2 separate regions of the Homo sapiens genome follow, and region 1 is linked to region 2. The links are contacts of gene promoters, found by promoter capture Hi-C in blood cells and fetal thymus (Javierre and others, 2016). All regions are on one chromosome and are shown on one strand. Each heading gives the region's core, a stretch centred on a gene start or on the middle of the fragment in contact. The rest is flanking DNA. Distances are from core to core; before and after follow the strand shown.

The links. The method cuts DNA at HindIII sites, captures the fragments that hold promoters and counts their contacts. A CHiCAGO score of 5 or more calls a contact.
Region 1: a contact is called between a fragment that was not itself captured here and the fragment with the promoter of RXYLT1 in region 2, in 2 of 17 cell types (total CD4 T cells and total B cells). The highest score is 7.0, in total CD4 T cells.

Annotation. Positions count from the first base shown.
Region 1 is chr12:66,302,352-66,305,568 of GRCh38, forward strand. HELB (DNA helicase B) reads left to right here and starts at 142. Exons shown (of 13, transcript NM_001370285.1): 1 at 142-439; 2 at 2,380-2,799. The coding sequence starts at 253. RefSeq lists enhancers at 212-261, 322-401, 1,033-1,132, 1,163-1,472. The HindIII fragment of the contact is 1,108 bases long and covers 697-1,804 here.
Region 2 is chr12:63,778,483-63,781,793 of GRCh38, forward strand. It overlaps RXYLT1 (ribitol xylosyltransferase 1), which reads left to right and starts at 1,427. Exons shown (of 6, transcript NM_014254.3): 1 at 1,427-1,647; 2 at 2,537-2,692. The coding sequence starts at 1,479. RefSeq lists silencers at 1,246-1,475, 1,492-1,767, 1,496-1,795. The HindIII fragment of the contact is 1,854 bases long and covers 381-2,234 here.

The sequences.
Region 1 (3,217 bases), core at 1-2,500, 2.5 Mb after region 2:
ATCTCCCAGCCCCTCGCTCTCCCTTCCCCGCCCCTAACCCGCCTTGCCCCGCCCCTTCCACATGCCCTCCCCTCGGCAATTCCTGGAAACTTGGGGCGGAGCTTCGCTGCCTTTCAGGTTTTATGTACGCTGGCGGCCGCCAGGCCGTTCCCGGAAGTTGATGGCCTTACAGTCGTAGAACTGATTGGCTGATCATGACCATGCAGTTAGCCAGGGTTTTCCCGAGTTGTTTGGGTTGAGTTCAGGAGAAGCATGGCCAGGTCGAGTCCGTACCTGCGCCAACTTCAGGGACCTCTGCTCCCACCCAGGGATCTGGTGGAGGAGGACGACGACTACCTAAACGACGACGTGGAGGAGGATGAAGAGTCCGTGTTCATCGACGCCGAGGAGCTCTGCAGTGGGGGCGTAAAGGCTGGCAGCCTCCCCGGGTGCCTCCGCGGTGAGGAAGGCGTCTGCCCGGGGGATGGGGTTGGAGGGTCCAAAGTAGCGCTTCCCATTCTGGCTTTGCCCTGAGCAAGGCACCCAGTCGTGCTAACAGATTTAGCTTATCAGTGGTCTAGCTGCTTCATCCTACCAAGGGTAAAATTATGACTATAATAATAGCAGTGACTTTAACTGGACACATACTATGTGGTTTTTTTTTTTTTTTCTTTTTTTGAGCAGCAGCAAGATTTATTGCAAAGAGCGAAAGAACAAAGCTTCTACAGTGTGGAAGGGGACCCGAGCGGGTTGCCCTTTTTTTTTTTTTTTTTTTTTAAAATTATTCTCATTTTAATGGTCGTCCTTTAATTTAATGTACCTTTAATGTAAGGTAGTTTTACGCTTAAGGAAACAGTGGATGTTGAGTCTCTATTTCCACCCAGAATCGGAACTTTTATTTTTCCTTCTGACCACTTATCCTCAAGTTCTATAGAATGAGAACTTGTAATTATTATCCTATATTGCCTGGAGTCAAATACGTGGTTCTTCCTCAGCTTCTTGGAAAAACAAAACAGTCCGGGCGCGGTGGCTCACGCACTTTGGGAGGCCGAGGCAGGTGGATCACTTGAGGTCAGGAGTTCGAGACCAGCCTGACCAACATGGTGAAACCTGTCTCTAGTAAAACAACAACAACAACAACAAAACTACAAAATTAGCCGGGCGTGATGTCGCACACCTGTAATCCTAGCTACTTGGGAGGCCGAGGCAGGAGAATTGCTTGAACCCAGGAGGTGGGGGTTGCAGTGAGCTGAGATCACACCATTGCACTCCGGCCTGGGCAACAAGAATGAAACTCCATCTCAAAAAACGAAAAGGAAAGAAAAGAAAAAGAAAAACGAAACACAAGGAACACCTCAGTGCACAGATGATTGTTAATTGGTGTTAGTAACCTTGTGGTTCGGGTAAACCTTGTATAAGTAGTTTCCTGTGCTATGAGGTAGTTTCCTGTGCTATAAGTTATACCTGTTATGTATACTTTGTGACTGAGACTTAAAATATTTTAATGTGCCGACCGGTGCTGTTCAGTAGAACTTTCCATGATCATGGCAGTGTTTTATATCTGCACTGTCTGGTATAATAGCCACTAGCCATATGTAGCTGTTTAGAACTTGAAATCCAGCTAGTGTAACTGAGGAGAGAAATTTTAAGTTTTATTACATTTTAATTTAAATAGCCACGTGGGTGGACAGCGCAGATTTAGGCAGAAAAGTTTCAAGTATTTGTGGAGGGCTTAGTCGTCATTCTAAAGTATCATCAACTGGCTAGCATGTTTGGTGCTGGGAAAACCTAGAGAAATAAAATAACAAGGTTGCAGTCTTAATGAAGCTTACCCTCTAGTGTATTAAACAAACATTCTTTAATCACAGAAGTAACTATAATGTTACTAAATGCTTAGAAGGAATGCTAAATAGTGCTTTGAGAGGTTTTATACATGAGATTCAGGGAAGACTTTTCTAAGTAAGTGATAGTTAAGCTGAGGTCTGTAGTAAATGTAGTAAACAGTAAAGGGGAGATCAGTTAAGGCAGATGGAATAACTTGAGTGAAGGGCCATGGCATTTTAAAGAAACTGCATGAAGGCCAGTATTGGCTGAAGTCAAGAGTAGCAGAGAGGGGACTGATTTTAGAAGAGGAACAGCAGACACCTGCTGTGTACTGTGCTTGCGTTTTGGAATACAAAGACAAACGAAACAGTGTCCTGTTTTAGTATTTACAGTGTAGTGGAGGGAGACAGAAAAAGAGGTAGGCAGAATGCAGTGTTACAGGCACCCTACCAGACATCTTTAGAGAGTGCTGTAGGGAGATTAAAGATAGTGGTAAGTTTGATGAAACTTTGAGGAAACGGTTTCTAAATAATCTCCAGAGTTAACTTTTGTGGGTTTTTGTTTGTTTTTTTTTAGTTTCTATTTGTGATGAAAACACACAAGAGACATGTAAAGTGTTTGGACGTTTTCCGATAACAGGTGCTTGGTGGAGAGTGAAGGTACAAGTAAAGCCTGTGGTGGGATCAAGGAGCTATCAATATCAAGTTCAAGGATTTCCGTCTTACTTTTTGCAGTCTGATATGTCACCACCAAATCAAAAACATATCTGTGCTCTCTTTCTTAAAGAGTGTGAGGTCTCCAGTGATGATGTTAATAAATTTTTAACATGGGTAAAGGAGGTATCAAACTACAAAAACCTAAACTTTGAAAATCTTAGGGAAACACTAAGAACTTTCCACAAGGAAACTGGAAGGAAAGATCAAAAGCAGCCTACACAGAATGGTCAGGAAGAGTTGTTCCTAGACAATGAGATGAGTCTTCCTCTGGAAAACACAAGTAAGTGTGATTTTTATCATCAACTTTCAGTGTAATTGACATACTTAATAACTACAGTGTTTAAAATGTTACCACTAGCATAGTATTCTTTTTAAAAATCCATTTGGTGAAAAATGTGTTTATGTTGCTTTTGGAGTATGCCATTGACATTTCAGGTTTCTCATCTGTAGCATGAAGGGATTATATGAGCTGATCTTTAAAATCTTCCAGTTCCTTTCCACCTCTAAAACTGTGATTTTAATCTCTCTTTCTAACTTTTGTATTCACAGCGATTACCTTGAATCATTAATAAAAAAAAATTCAGTTGCTGGCCAGGTGTGGTAGCTGCTCACGTCTGTAATCCCACTTTGGGAGACTGAGGCAGGAGGATCACTTGAGCGCAGGAGATCGAGACTAGCCTGAGCAATGTAGTGAGACC
Region 2 (3,311 bases), core at 177-2,676:
TTTAAAAGCTTATCATCAAATTATGCAGTCATTTGCAGTTTGAGGTAAAACAACTCCTTCATTTTCATGGCCCTCTCCCCTATTCAAGATGACATCAACTGCATATTAGTTTTACCTTGTATGCATTTCTCAATAGTAAAACCATTAGTCAGTAGCATCTGAATGTACATTGATACAGTGGGTGTTTTGTGGTAATTATAAGGTAATTACTTCCTATCCTTAAATAATTGTCATTTCCACAAACAAACAAAATAGGATAAACAACAATACAGCATACATAAAACAACTGCCATCTCCCTAAGACACCAGAATAGCCTGTTAATCAAGGAAAGCTAAATTTATTAAATCTACTACAGTAAGGGAGGCCACACTTTGACAGAAGCTTGGCAGTCTCAGAAGGAGAAGGTTGGGGGTGATATTTATAGGATTTGGGGAGTCTGAGCAAAAATGGTTTAAAACAGGTCTTTTGAGGCAGGGAACTGTTTGGGGGATTGGGTAAAGTGTTTGACCTAATAGTTTAGGGTCGGTGCTAGAGTGACCAATTTTACTGATTTCCTAGGACTTTCTCAATTTTAGCACTAAAAATCCTCCAACTGGAGAATCCTTACAGTCCTGGGCAAACTGGGACCATTGGTCACCCTAATTAGCAGACATACCGTCGCAAGACTGCTGGGTAATTTGAACAGTAGTACCAGAGCAACTGACAAAACATTGTAGCCCATCTTCCCAAGGCTGGATACAAAGTTTTCTGAAGCATTCACATTTACAGCCTCTATTTGACAAAATACTGCATGCCTATGTGCGTTCAACTCACATAATAATGAAACTTAACTTTAAAAATGTTTTTATTGCAGTAAGGTATATAAAACATGAATTCGACAGTTTAACTATTTCTATGCATACAAGTGAGTGGTATTAATTACATTCACAATGTTAAGCGACCATCATCACTTAATTTTTTTAAAGGACGTTTATATTCACTCATCTATCAACGTAGTAGGCACTGTCCTAGGCGCTAGGGATTCCATGCAGAGCAAAAAACGTCACAGTCCATGCCTTCACATGGCCTTCATGGACCACCGCGGGTGTTCTTTTTCCCCCGAGTCTTTATGTACTTGGGAAAAGTGGCCAGGGTTGAAAGGTGCAATGAGTACACGGCAGAGGTCAGAGAGGTTCCCACTCAGCCCGGCGTCTGGAAGCAGCGTGGGGTAGGGGCCGCTCCAGTACCCCCTCCTCCAGTGTCGAAGGTGGGCAGGCCCTCGGCCGGGTGGATGAGCCGCGACTGGAGGGGGCGGGGCCTGGGCGGGAGGCGGGCGGTGGGCGTGTCCGGGGCGGGGCTGTACCGGGCGCTGGGCGGAGGAGCCTTGGCTGGGGACTGCCTGGAAACGGGCTGGGCCTGCCTCGGACGCCGCCGGTGTCGCGGATTCTCTTTCCGCCCGCTCCATGGCGGTGGATGCCTGACTGGAAGCCCGAGTGGGATGCGGCTGACGCGGAAGCGGCTCTGCTCGTTTCTTATCGCCCTGTACTGCCTATTCTCCCTCTACGCTGCCTACCACGTCTTCTTCGGGCGCCGCCGCCAGGCGCCGGCCGGGTCCCCGCGGGGCCTCAGGAAGGGGGCGGCCCCCGCGCGGGAGAGACGCGGCCGAGGTAGGACTGGGTCGGCGGCTTCCTTCCGGCTCTGCGCTCCTGGCTGGGGCTGCTGGGCGGCTGGGGCCGGGTCCCCGCACCCGGCTCTCAAGTCCGGGATTACCCGCAGGGCCTGAGAAGCGCTTTGCCCCCTACAGCCTCTCGAGCCAGCCCTTGGCTCGGAATTGGAGAATGGTCCTCATTCTTACCCAGATCTCACACGCCGTCCCCGCTCCCGATCCCAGGGGGTGACAGGCGCGCACGCCTTTCAAACACGTGTTAAAATCCAAGACGTCGTCTCAAATGCCAGAGATTTGCGGGAATGCTCCTGGAAGGCCTCAAAATCGCCGCAAGGTTTAAGACATCCGTTTCCATGTTGAAACAAAGCCCTCTCTAATCCTGCAGTGACCATAAGGCAGACTTTACCTCCAAATTCTGGTCCCCTGTCCTGTGTTTTAACTTGTGTTAAGATCAGACTCGGCTTTCTCTTTCCCTTTATTCAGAATTTTGCACGATAGTATCTAAGACTGGTGAACACTACACTCTGAAGTCAGTTTTTTGTGCATAGGTTACCTGTATACAATGGATAAAAATAATTGCAAAAGTTAAGCTTGTAACTTGATACATATTATCCTGTTATTTTTAAAGGTTTTGTGTTGGGGAAGAGAATTTTCCTGTCTCAAGGTAGCATTTTATTTCTAAGACTTTTCAGAGTAAAAAAAGTTCAGTAAAAAAATTGCTGATTTTCTTTTTTGTTTTCATTGTGTATTACCAGTTTAAATTCAGTTGCTGTACCTCTCAGAAATTAAAGTTAGGATGAAATTAGAACTAACACTTAATTTAAATGATTTGAATTTACCTACAACTGCAATAATACCTTACTGGTAAACACTTACTCTTTTTAAAACAGAACAGTCCACTTTGGAAAGTGAAGAATGGAATCCTTGGGAAGGAGATGAAAAAAATGAGCAACAACACAGATTTAAAACTAGCCTTCAAATATTAGATAAATCCACGAAAGGAAAAACAGATCTCAGTGTACAAATCTGGGGCAAAGCTGCCATTGGTAAGTTAATACGTAGAAGGAAGACATGTAAAAAGCATTATAAAATGTATTTTATTGATATGAAATTCATTTTAATATAATTTATTTCATAATTTGTTAATTAAGGCATCATGATATATTTTTTCGCTTTTTGTCAATAATTCCTTTCTCCTTCCAATTAGACAACATCTGTTTGTAAATGTACACACATACATATTCCACTGTTGGTCTTTAGCAGAGCACAGCTTCATTTATTGATACATTGAGTAGGCTGTATAGTGTCATTAGATTGCAATGCATATGTCAACTGAATTTTCATGAATCTGTGTATTTTTTGGACACTTGATACACAAGTATAAGATGTGGCCCCTGCCCTTGATGGCCAAACACATTTGGGAAACACTGAAGAGTACAAAGTTAAACAAGGTTCTTCATTGCAGGCCTTTCTCAAGAGCCTTTAATATGACAATGTTCATTGTATCAGCGAAGGAATATATTATAGTATGTAGTTGATTAAACTTGATTGACCACAGAAGCATTTTTGCTGTGAATATCATGAGAGTGTAGTGTTCTAAGATATATATTATGCTCAATTAGAGAATGGGGCCCTGAGGGTTTAAAGAGTCACAAAGAATTTAGT